Regions from separate parts of the Homo sapiens genome. Here regions 2, 3 and 4 are each linked to region 1. Evidence: promoter capture Hi-C in 16 types of primary human blood cells and fetal thymus (Javierre and others, 2016). All regions are on one chromosome and are shown on one strand. Each heading gives the region's core, a stretch centred on a gene start or on the middle of the fragment in contact. The rest is flanking DNA. Distances are from core to core; before and after follow the strand shown.

Region 1 (3,184 bases), core at 87-2,586:
TCTTCAGCAAGCCAAGGCAGTGGCCCGAGACGCTCAGGGATCCTTCCACAGATGCCTGTGGCCCACCCCATCTGCCAAACACTCACCAGCCCCACAGTGTCCAGCCTCGACATCGGAAACTTTTCAATTCACCCTTCTCCTTCCTCCCCTTTGGGACCAGAGATGTGTGGGGCGGTGCCCTCGGAGACACTCATACAGTTGGTTCTGGACGCTCACACACACTCAAACAACAGCGGTACGAGGTAACTCCCAGCTTTTTCCACAGCTAATTATACATGTGAAAGTCTGAGGATGTTTTGCAAGCAGCACAGAGAAACTGCTGAGGTTTCTCTGCAAAGCTAAAGAAATTTAATTCGTGCACTCTCCTTCCCCACTCCTGCCAACTTCTCCCAGCCCACCTCCACCCCATGGCCCCAAAGTGCCCCTCTCCTAGTTCCCGCTGCAGCCCCTCTTTCTGCTGAAGATTTCTTTGGTTCCTTTTTTTTTTTTTTTTCCATCTCTCTTTTGGGCTTTCGAGAAAGGGAACAGACACGGAAAATATTTTTGCAACAGTTTTCCATCCTGCGTCTCATTCCCAAGCCAAGGGGGGAAGGGGAGGGCAGGAACGGAATGGGTTGAGGGAGGGGAGATAAATATTTTTTCCAAGAGCTCAATTTTGGTGTCAAAAAGAGAACCCTCCATTACCCTACCCCATAGCCCAGGAATGACAAGAACTAGGAAAAGAGAGATAAATCACTTGTTCGACTATATGGTTTCTCAGAACTGATAATAGGTAAAACAGTATTTGACAAATCTGTGCACACACACATATTTTAAAAAAAATCCTCCAAACCCAGTCGCATGAAATATTCTAGAAAGAGGAAAATCGGGGAGTTTTAGAAGCCATTGAGAGAAAAGAAAGAAACAAAGTTTGCAAATCACAAGTCAATTCATTCTCTGCAAGCCTACCTCTCTTTCTAGCAAAGATCCAGGTTTCTTCAGGCGGGACTCTCCCTCCGGGTTTCCATGGATGAGGGTAGGGTGGGGTGACCACCCACCAGTCTCCCCAGTGTGGCAACCAAGCTAGAGACGCTGGCTTTGCTCTCTTGCCTTTCTGGCTAAGGCCGGGGAGTGGGCTGGGTCTCCTCCCCCTGCCCCTCCAATGGGAAGGACCTCTCAGGTTCCTGAAAGAAAAAGGGTGCAGGAGAGCTGGGCGGGTGTCTCTGATCTTGCTCTCTTCGGAGGGATGGTGCCCCACGAAGTTCGTGCCCCCCCTCCCAGCCCCCAGCTTTGGACGATCTCAACAGCAGAGCTTTCTTAAGAAAATGCTTGTCATGGCAACAGCTCTAGCTAACTCGGGCCAGACTCTTGCTCACCAGCTCTCCCCAAGCAGTGCGGGAAGAGAGAGGGGAGGAGCAGGAGCTGGAACAGAGGTGGGACTTGGCGCGAGGCCAAACCATTACTCTACTGTTAAGGTGGCCCGATTCTTGCGGTTACTTCCTGGTTCGTCTTAAGGGGGAATGGGAAAAGAAAGGGAAGCAATCCTCTCCCCTGTCGGCTTTCTTCCCCGCCCTTGCTCTCACTTGTTGAATAGAAAGCTGAGTAGGGGTGGAGGAGGGGTGAGGGTGGAGGTGGGGAGTGGATGTGGGTGGCGGTATTCAACGGTTGCTGGGCGGAGGGGAAAAAAAAGGAAGCTTGGGCAGGCGGCTGGCTTCCTGCAGCTCCTACGGGCCTCTCAACCCCTTACTCACTTAGATCCAGGACCCAGAAACCCGAGGTGTCTGTGGACACTTGTATGTCCCCTCCTACCTTCCTGCTCCTGTCTGAATAGGGGGTTCCTTGGAGAAGGAGAATAAATTGTTTTGTAAACACACACACACACACACACACACACACACACACACACACACACACACCCGTCCTCCCCTACACCTTATATACAGGTCACATTTTGTTCCCTCTTGTCCCTGTACCCACCAGAGGTATACTGACAGTGCATGAAAATAGCTGCTTACTTTTGAGTCCTGCTATGCGTGGGCTATGACACCAAAAGCTTTGTCTATATGGTATCGTTTCTAGTCCTCATTTAATCTTGAAAGGTACTTATTATTAACCTCATTTCCTAGTTGAGGGAATTGAAGATTGAGTGTCTGGCCCAAGGTTATACATCCGGCTAATGACAGAGCCAACGATTCAAGACCAAGTCAGACAGACTCCAAAGCCCGAGTACTTTCCTGTACTTTGTATCATACTCCGGCACATATTTCCGTTTTAATTTGCACACACTCAGACATCCATGCACACTTATACACAGCCTGTAAACAGTTAATCACACCCCCATACCCACACACCCACTAGCATTGTGCAACAGTGCCACCCATAGATTTTGCATAGAACTTTATGGCTTTCAAGCACAAACATGCACCATCAGCTGGTTCACACAACATATCTTCATTGACTGACAGATTCCCACACCTACCTCAGCAAACACACTCATGTTTATATGCTTATGGAAGGCACATTGACATATGTCTCACAGGTTATAGCTATGAGCTATGCTGTGAAGAAGGTGACTGGCCACTACTTCCCAACCTTTTAAACAGAGGGTTGGGAAAAGGCCTCTTTGATCCTATCATTCTAACCCAACAGCTCACACCACCCCCTGTCCTTCTTTGCTGTCATCTCTGCCCCCAAGAAGCAGAGCCACATGTGCATGGAGAAACAGGGTTGTGAAACGGGGTCCAGTTTCCCCCGTGTCCAACTAGCACCCTTCCCAATGTTCTCTCATTTGGGTCCTCTTTTTCCTCTTCATTTTCTTACCCTGCTATTTCTTTTTTCTTTATGGTTTTTTTTTTTTTTTTTGAGACGGAGTCTTGCTCTGTTGCCCAGGCTGGAGTGCAGTGGCGTGATCTCGGCTCACTGCAAGCTCCGCCTCCGGGGTTCACGCCATTCTCCTGCCTCAGCCTCCCGAGTAGCTGGGACTACAGGCCCCTGCCACCACGCCCGGCTAATTTTGTTTTTGTATTTTTAGTAGAGACGGGGTTTCACCATGTTAGCCAGAATGGTCTCGATCTCCTGACCTCATGATCTGCCCGCCTCGGCCTCCCAAAGTGCTGGGATTACAGGCGTGAGCCCCCGCACCCGGCCAGTAATGTTTTTAGACTGGTTGGGCTGGGCTCAGAACTCAGAGTTCATCAATGTGAGG
Region 2 (3,090 bases), core at 149-2,648, 360 kb after region 1:
CTCATTTCTACCTCATCTTAACTGAGATGCCCTGTGATAGAGTGGGGGATTTGAACCTGAGTCAGTCAGCTGTTTCTCAACACAATGCGAGGTTTCTGGGTCCCCTGTGTGCTCCTGCTGTACCTCATCAGCTCTTAGGTGTGAAGCATCCCTTAGAACTCTGATGAGGTGGCGTTGAAGGAGGGGAGCCACTCTAATGCAGCTTTTCGAACTCATCCATTCCAAAGATGGCTCAGGGCCTTTGCTAGATCCAGAGGCAGCTTGAGGGCGAAAGTCCAGGGCCCTGAGAGGGTGGAAGAGGTGACACTTCTAAGATCCAGGAAACCCCAGCCTCTGCCACAAGACTGGCTGCACAGCTACCCCTGTGGCAGGTGAAGGCAGTGCTCAGGTAGTCCTGGGACTCTTTCTAAACTTCTCTGGCCTGGCCCTCAATGTCCTCTGACAGACTCTAGCTTGCTGGGACACCTCTAAGGAAACTGCCAAGGGAACTGCAGAAGCAGGAGCAGGTGAGAAGTGCCCGGGTGTCTTCTTTCCATGGGGGAATTTGGAGAAGCATTCTGAGCCCAGCAAAGTGTCAGGCAGGCAAGGTAAGGCCTCACCTGATAGGAGGTGTATCCTCGTACCTAGTCTCAGCAAGGAAGGTTGCCAGCTTCATGGCTCTTTTGAGTTAAAAGGGCTGTAAGATCCTTGGTAAACGACCAGAGCCTGAATGTCACAGGGAAGAGGTTGGACTGGGACCCAATACAGCTGCCTATGTATCTGAGAAGACGCTATTTATAAACAGAGAAGGTATTTATTGGCTGGACAATCCTGAGGAAGTCTCCCACTTCTCACTCTCATTCATAAAGTGGGGATCATGATCACTACCTCTCAAGCTTACTGTAACATTGAATGAGGTAATGAATATGAAAACACTCAAAATCTATAAAGTATCTACAAACCTGGAAGATTATAATTCTGCATTTGTACAGTAGAAATAACAGTACCATGGTTGCTATTAGTGCCCAGCCAAATCCCCTTTACTGGTCTGGTGCAACCCTCCATCCCTGCCCACCGGCTGCTGTGAGGTTTGGCTGGTAACAGTTCACAGTTATTCCCTCTGCAGAGACTTCCCCGGGAATGGAAGCTGCCTTACTTGGGGCTTGCAGCCGATGCTTGTCTGACACAGGGGCAGGAAAGGCCAGTCCCCGACCTCAAGACAAGATGAACTCTGGTGTAGCACATGCTTCAGGGATCCCCATGAAATCAGGCCGCAGCTCAGCCACAGCTGACACCACAGCCTGGCTCCCTCCTTCCCCACCCCACTCTCCTTCCTTTTCTTTCTTCTGAGGGTTCTTCCCCAACAGAAGAAGATATGCATGAAATCTGTCCCAGGCTCTGCTTTTAAGGAATCTGGTCCACTTGTCTGCCGTACAAAGTTGCTATGAGGGTTAAATAATATAATACAGATGAAGAGATTAGCCCAGTGCCTGGCATATACAGTGCATATCCAATTAATGTTAAAGATTGCCATTATCCATGAGACTGGAGCATCAGGAACATCTTAGTGTAATAGTGAGGTGTGGAAATCTGGTGAGTGAGTCAGTGGATTGAATTTTACATGCTTAGGGACTGGGGTGGGCAGAGAGAAGGGCAGCTGGGTTTCCTTGGGTATCACTGGTTGTCTCAGCTTTGGGCAGTGAGGGTCCTTTACACAGCTAGGGAAAAGTTCCAGTCATTACATACTTCTACCAGCAGAGGACGCCACTTCCATACAAATAAGTGTTTCCTCTGCTATCTGATGCAGTTTTCATCAAAGCAGTCTAGGCTGGCAGGAAAGATCAGGTACATGACAGAGCAGAAAGTGCCTTCAGATTTGCACAGATAATAGGAGAGGGCAGAACAGGAAGAAACAGTGAGTTAAGCTGTTCAGGAAGCTTCGTGGGAGGTGAGGCCTTGAGCAGGGCACTCTAGCACCAGAAGGAGTATTGAGTGGAGATGGCATTCCCAGGGAAGCCACTACCCTAGGCAAGGTGACCAGGGCCTGAGCCAGGGCCGTGGCAGGGAGGCAGCCACGAGAGGGTATGAAGGACACCAAACACAGGGACAGGACTGATTTCAGCTGAGAGGTCTAGGAGGAGATCATGGGCCCACCAACATGGGGTAGACGTCAGGAAGGAGCACGTTTTTATAGGACAGAGCACACTTCTCCAACTGGTTTGACTGCCCTGTTACAATGTCCTCTGCAAGCCATCATTCTGTAGGATTCCTGTTTTGTGTGGATTCTAGAAACCAGTGAAATATTCAGAGGTGTTAATAGCATCAAGATTTCATTGGTTCTTTCCATTCTTTTTATTTTTATTTTTTGAGATGGGGTCTCAGTCCCTGCCCCAGGCTGGAGTGCAGTGGCACCATCACAGCTCACCACAGCCTCAACACCCCAGGGCTCAGGCGATCCTCCTGCCTCAGCCTCCTGAGTAGCTGAGACCATAGGTACGTACCACCATGCCTGGCTAATTTTACATATATACACATATATGTGTGTATATATAATTATATACGTATATATACACATATATACATATATAATTATATACATATATACATATATACACACACATATATGTGTATATATATACACACATATATATGTATATATACACATATGTATATGTGTGTGTGTGTGTGTGTATATATATATATATATATATATATATATATATTTGAAGAGACAGGGTCTCCTTACGTTGTCCAGACTGATCTTGAACTCCTGGGCTCAAGCGATCCTCCTGTCTCAGTCTCCCAAAGTGCTGGGATTACAGACGTGAGCCACCGCGCCTGGCCAGCTTTTTCCGTTTTGAGTAGAGACGGCAAGAAGCGCCCCACAGCTTGCCCTTGCTTCGGAACTCGGGGTTGTGAATCAGTCAGGATAGAAATTAATGGTGCAGTGGGAATAAAGAGGAATGTTAGATGATCTCGCAGGGGTGGGGGAGAACCCAAAAAGAAAGAACGAACGTGAAGAAGCCTAGCTCTCCGAGACTGGGGTTCAGTCCTTGCTGGAGAAAGTGCGTTGCAGCCCATTGAGGGCAGAAGAGTTCTCTGGGTTGTCCC
Region 3 (2,989 bases), core at 128-2,627, 380 kb after region 1:
AATTGCAATGGTTACCACAAAGACAGTAACTATAGAATGTAAGTGCTATGATTTGAATATGGTTTATCCCCCACTGAAATTCATGTTAAGGCTTGTTCCCCATGTAATGGTGTTGAGAACTGGTGGGACCTTTAAGAGGCATTTGGGTCATAAGCCATCTGTCCTTATGAAGGGATTAATGCCATTTCACAGGAGTGAATTATTGCTCTTCAGTGACTGGATTAGTTACCGCAAGAGTGGGTTGTTATAAAGTGAGGTCACCCCTCATGTTTTCTCTCTTGTGTGTGTACCCGCTCAGTGCTCTCACATGCATAACCACCATGTGATGCCATCCTCCATGTTATGACACAGCATGAGACCCTCGTCAGATGCAGCTGTTTGATCTTGAACTTCCCAGCATCAAGAACTGTGAGCTAAACAAACCTCTTTTTAAAAAATAAATTACCTGGTCTCAAGTATTCTGTTACAGCAACAGAAAATGGACAAAGACTGTAAAGGAAAGGAAGTGAGAAGGGAATCAAAATCTGTGGCCACAAAAAAAAATTAATGAAACACAAAAGAAATTATCAAAAGAAAAAAGGGGGGGGGGACAAAGAAAGCTACAAGTGAAACAGAACACAATGAACAAAATGGCAACAGTAAGTCCTTCACTATCAGCAATTTCTTAAAATGTAAATGCCATTATGAGCAATTATATGCCAACAATTGGATTTGGCAATAATTTCTTGGATATGATACCAAAAGCACAGGCAACAAAATAAAAAATAGACAAATAGTACTACATAAAACTTAAGTTTTTTTACACATCAAAGTAACAGTCAACAGAGAGAAAAGGCAACCTATGGAATGGGAGAAAAGAGTTGCAAGTCATATATCTGATAAGGGGTCAATATCCAGAATATATAAGGATCTTGTACAACTTAACAACAAGAAAAACCCCAAATAATCCAATTTAAAAACTGGCAAAGGATTTAAATAGACATTTCTCCAAAGAAGATATATGAATGGTTATTAAGTACATGAAAATATGCTCAACATCATTAATCACTAGGGAAATGTAAATAAAACTCACAATGAGATATCACCTCACACCCATCAGGATAGCCATTATAAAAATAACAGGAAATAACAAGTGTTGACAAGGATGCAGAGAAGTTTGGGTCCTCATGCACTGGTGGTGGGAAAGTAAATTATACAGATGTTATGAAAAACAGTATGGAGTTTCTCAAAACATTAAAAATAGAACTATCATATGATCCAGCAATCCCCCTTTTGGGTATATAGCCAAAAAGCTTCAAAGCAGATCTCAGAGATATTTGCACACCCATGTTCATTGCAGGATTATTCACAATAGCCAACAGGAGGAAATAACAGGTAATTGGATAAGAAAATGTGGTATATGCACATAATGGAATTTTATGTGCCCTTAAAAAAGGGCATGTTACAACATGAATGAAGCTTAAGGACATTATGCTAAGTGAAATAAGCCAGTCACAAATGGACAAATACTGTATAATTCACTCATATAAAGTATCTAAATAAGTCAGAATCCTCAAAACATAAAGTAAAAAGGTAGTCGCCAAGAACTTGCGGGAGGTGGGATGGGGAATTCATGTTTGGTAGGTATAGAGTTTCAGTGTTGCAAGAAGAAAAATTTCTAGAGACTTGTTGCACAAGTGAATATACTTAACAGTACTGAAATGTACATTTAAAAATGTTTAGGATGGTTTAATGTTGTGTGGTTTTTACCACAATACAAAAAAAAAGACTCAGCTAAGAAAACGAACAGGCAAAACCAAAGGCTGGTAGAAAACATTCACAGTACATATATCTGAATATGGATTTCTATCCAGAATAATAAAGAACTTCTAACACAATAAAAATGTGGATGACAGACTTGAGCAACATTTTCAGAAGCAAACAAAGACATATGAATGGACAAAGACATATAAAAAAAGTGCTCGACATCATTACTCAGCAGGCAAAGGCAAATTAAAGCCATAATGAATCACTACATGCCTACTAGAATGTCTAAAATTATAAAGACTGTCAACACCACATGTTGGCAAGCATTTGACATAACAAAAACTCTCACGTTGCTCTTGGATGTGTGAAATGGCACAATTACTTTGAAAAGTTGCTTGCTTGGTAGCTTCTTATTAAACATAAAGCTAGCTGATGACTCTAATTTTACACCTGTGTATTTATTCAAAGTAAATGAAAACATATGTCCACGAAGAGACGTATACATAACTGTTCATAGAAGCTTTGCATTTCTGATAGCCAAAACTGGAAATAACCCAATGTTTATGAAGTGGGATATATTCATAAAATACAATACTTCTTGCAATTAAAAGAAACAGACTACTGATAACAACAAAATGGATGAGTCTCAAAAACTTTATGCTGACTGAAACAAGCCAACATTAAAGAGCTCTCGGTGGCCAAAGCTGGAAAAATTTGAGCAGCAAAATAAATAATGTACTAATAGTATTTGATTATAACTCAAAACATAAATAAATATCTATGAGTCCATATGGATATAAATAAATGATATAGTAAATAAATGGGAGAGAAGGGACAAATGTCCCATACAGAATTATATAATAAAGGTATGTAGTTGCTTCTTCCCCAAGGAAGTGGAGCTTAACTCCTCACCCCTAGAGTGTGGGCTGCACTTACTGACTCGCTTCCAAAGAGTAGAATAGGGAAGCCAGGTGGAGAAGTAGAAACCTGGCAAATAGTATCCCGGCCTGGTAATCAAGATTAAAAAGATCAGTTATGTGGATAATACCTACCTTTTAGTTTTAGTTTTTTGAGACAAGGTCTCACTCTGTCACCAGGCTGGAGTGCAGTGGTAAGATTTCTGTTCACTGCAACCTCTGCCTCCTGGGTTCAAGCGATTCTCCTGCTTCAGCCTCCCAAGTGGCTGGGATTACACGTGCATGCCACCATGCCTGGCTAATTTTTGTATTTTTAGTAGAGACAG
Region 4 (3,070 bases), core at 102-2,601, 290 kb after region 1:
CATTGCAACCTCCACCTCCTGGGTTCAAACAACCCTCCTGCCTGCCTCAGCCTCCCAAGTAGCTGGGACTGCAGGCATGTACCACCATACCTAACTTTTGGCTTTTTTGTAGAGATGGGGTTTCATCATGTCGCCCAAGCTGGTCTCCGACTCCTGGACATAAGCGATCTGCCCGCCTAGGCCACATGCCTAGGCTTACAAAGACTTTGTAAAGGATTACAAAGGAAACTAATTACATTGAAGTACAGTTACCAAAATATAAAACATATACATTTTTGATATAATAATATATATGTTTCTTTATTAAGTCGATGAATAACAAGATTTAGCAACAGGTCTAGTTAATTATAGTCATTTCAAACTATTGATGCATGTAAATGGCATATCAAACTATTTTAACAACTGTAATGTGATATAAAAATATCTTGGCCGGGCGCGGTGGCTGGCCGGGCGCGGTGGCTCATGCCTGTAATCACAGCACTTTGGGAGGCCGAAGCGGGCGGATCACGAGGTCAGGAAATAGAGAACATCCTGGCTAACACGGTGAAACCCCGTCTCTACTAAAAAATACAAAAAAAATAGCTGGGCGTGGTGGTGGGTGCCTGTAGGCCCAGCTACTCGGGAGGCTGAGGCAGGAGAATGGCGTGAACCCGGGAGGCGGAGCTTGCAGTGAGCGGTCTGCACTCCAGCCTGGGCAACACAGCAAGACTCCGTCTCAAAAAAAAAAAAAAAATCTGTGGGCCGGGTGCTCTGGCTCACACCTGTAATTCCAACACTTTGGGAGGCTCAGGCGGATGGATCACTTGAGGTCAAGAGTTCAAGACCAGCCTGGCCAACATGATAAAACCCTGTCTCCACTAAAAATACAAAGATTAGCTGGACATGGTGGCGCATGCCTGTAGTCCCAGCTACTCAGGAGGCTGAGGCAGGAGAATTGCTTGAACCTGGGAGGCGGAGGCTGCAGTGAGCCAAGATAGAGCCACTGTACTCCAGCCTGGGCAACAGCGAGACTTCATCTCAAAAAATAAAAAATAAATAAAAATATATGTGATTTCAGCTGGTGACAAAGCCTCAGGTACTGCTAATAAGGCTGTGGTTTGTTACCTTCATAATTGAAAGGAATGCTACATTTCTGTTAGATGTATGAAAAACAAAGATAGGATTTCCCATTTCTCTCTAAGTCAAGCCAAGGAAAGACAAGCAGAAACATGGATCATAGAGGGAAGGCAAGAAAAATAGGCAAATCATCGTCTTTTCTCTCTATGAACATAGCTTAATCACTCAACAAATTTTTACTGAATGCAAACCTTGAGCTAGATAATGTGTCAGTAGTTGCTGCATTTAGTATGTGAAAGTTGAATGTAAAGTTCTCAAGGTTCTTGCCATGGCATGTGATAGAAATAATAATAACTAACATTTGTTTTACCTTAACAACTTAAAAGACACCTAGTTCATTCAAGAACCCATGAGGTAGTTTGCTATAAGTGCCAATTAAGGCATAGGGACAAAATGTTCATTTTTTTTTTCCAAGGGTGGGGAATGATGAGGGGCAGGGTAGCCAGGAATGCTGCAGAACAGCCCCAAGCTCCCTCTCACTGGGGGCTTGCAATGCACTTCTTTGTTAGCTTTGTTTGCTAGCTCAGCCATTTATTCTACTAAGCACTCAGATGCAGGGTCCACAGTTGATGTATATCATCAGGAGACTCAGTATCCTGTGTAGACCTCAAACTCTCCCAGAAATTCTTCTGCCTCAGACAGATGGGAGCTAGTAGACATGACTCCTGTTGCCAGCTGAGCCTCTGGGTACCTAGGCTAGAAAGTTGTGCCCAGATGGAGCAAACACATTGCTCAATCTTGTAGCAGCCCAGGTTTCCAGAGTAGGAAACTTTTCTGGAAACTAGGCCATGCTCATATGTGCTGCATGAAATGGCACAATAAACTGGACCTAATCCTTTCCTGGACCGTGTGGTCCAGGGAGCAGAAGAAGGGGGAAATGAGTCCAGAAAGACTGGAATGGACAAAAGGACCAAGCAGACCATGCCCAGCCATGCTGGGCTCCAAAAGAAACTGCAAACACTAAAGATAAATGAGCTGTTTCCATCTATGTGTCCAGATTGTGAGCTACACGTAGGGGAGAAAGAACAGAAGTACATTTGACCCAGTTTAAGAAATAAAAACAGGAAATGGGTCAGAGTTCCAAGAGGCAATAAGAAGACCTACCTACATAAGCAAGAGTATTGGAAATCAGAGGGGTCAGTCTTGAACTTTCTTACAACCCACCAGAAATAGAGAATCGGCAGCTTTGTCCTTGTATTCTACCCCAATAATCCCCACATTTTCTCCACAAGTGTTCATCAGAGCCATGAGTTTTGGCAAAATAGGACTCTGGAGGCAGGCAGGGACAATAACAGAAGCATGCTATCAGTGCCAGGCTTAGCTGGCAGTCCCAGAGGTAGATCTGAGTCAGATAACAAGACCAACAATGGCAGTTTGCACAAGAAGGTGTGCGGAAAGCTATTCCAAGGAAGGAGCCAGAAAACTCAAGTCCCAAAGTAGAAACAGATATATACAATCAAGGTATACACACGGTCAAGGCGTCAGGGGCATAAGCAGTTCCAAGCCCTGTAGCAAGGGTAAGCCAGGAGCAGAGGGGATGTCCTTATGGCAGCAGGGGAGTGGACCCAGAACAGCCCTGAGGGCTTTGGCCCAGAGCAAGTGTCAGGTGGTGTTTCCTGGCCCGTCCTCCCCTAAGGGGACTCTCAGCCCATAGGCACCTTAAAATTATGAAAAGCATCTCTCATTGGCCTCACTTATTATGTTTTCTGAGCCAAAAATTATGACACATTTTAATAAATACCTATGTTTTCATAGGACAATAAAACAGACTTTTTTTTTTTTTTTGAGACAGAGTCTCGCTCTGCAACCTCCGCCTCCTGGGGTCACACCATTCTCTTTCCTCAGCCTCCTGAGTAGCTGGGGCTAGAGGCGCCCGCCACTGCACCCAGCTAATTTTTCGTTTTCGTATTTTTAGTAGGGATGGGGTTTCACCGTGTTAGCCAGGATGGTCTCG

The links. The method cuts DNA at HindIII sites, captures the fragments that hold promoters and counts their contacts. A CHiCAGO score of 5 or more calls a contact.
Region 2: a fragment that was not itself captured here is called in contact with the fragment with the promoter of ATP2B4 in region 1 in 7 of 17 cell types (activated CD4 T cells, non-activated CD4 T cells, total CD8 T cells and 4 more); the score reaches 8.0 in activated CD4 T cells.
Region 3: a contact is called between a fragment that was not itself captured here and the fragment with the promoter of ATP2B4 in region 1, in 3 of 17 cell types (naive B cells, total CD8 T cells and fetal thymus). The highest score is 6.5, in naive B cells.
Region 4: a contact is called between a fragment that was not itself captured here and the fragment with the promoter of ATP2B4 in region 1, in 1 of 17 cell types (activated CD4 T cells). The highest score is 5.6, in activated CD4 T cells.

The regions. Positions count from the first base shown.
Region 1 is chr1:203,624,984-203,628,167 of GRCh38, reverse strand. It overlaps ATP2B4 (ATPase plasma membrane Ca2+ transporting 4), which reads right to left and starts at 1,336. Exons shown (of 21, transcript NM_001684.5): 1 at 949-1,336. RefSeq lists enhancers at 595-1,467, 1,468-2,342. The HindIII fragment of the contact is 13,651 bases long and covers 1-1,675 here.
Region 2 is chr1:203,267,900-203,270,989 of GRCh38, reverse strand. LOC124904486 (a long non-coding RNA gene) reads left to right here. Exons shown (of 2, transcript XR_007066798.1): 2 at 1-3,090. Among named protein-coding and RNA genes, the nearest start is that of LINC01353, 18 kb to the left of the region's middle. The HindIII fragment of the contact is 1,041 bases long and covers 878-1,918 here.
Region 3 is chr1:203,250,120-203,253,108 of GRCh38, reverse strand. No RefSeq gene overlaps it. Among named protein-coding and RNA genes, the nearest start is that of CHIT1, 22 kb to the right of the region's middle. The HindIII fragment of the contact is 166 bases long and covers 1,295-1,460 here.
Region 4 is chr1:203,335,078-203,338,147 of GRCh38, reverse strand. No RefSeq gene overlaps it. Among named protein-coding and RNA genes, the nearest start is that of FMOD, 15 kb to the left of the region's middle. The HindIII fragment of the contact is 4,053 bases long and covers 1-3,070 here.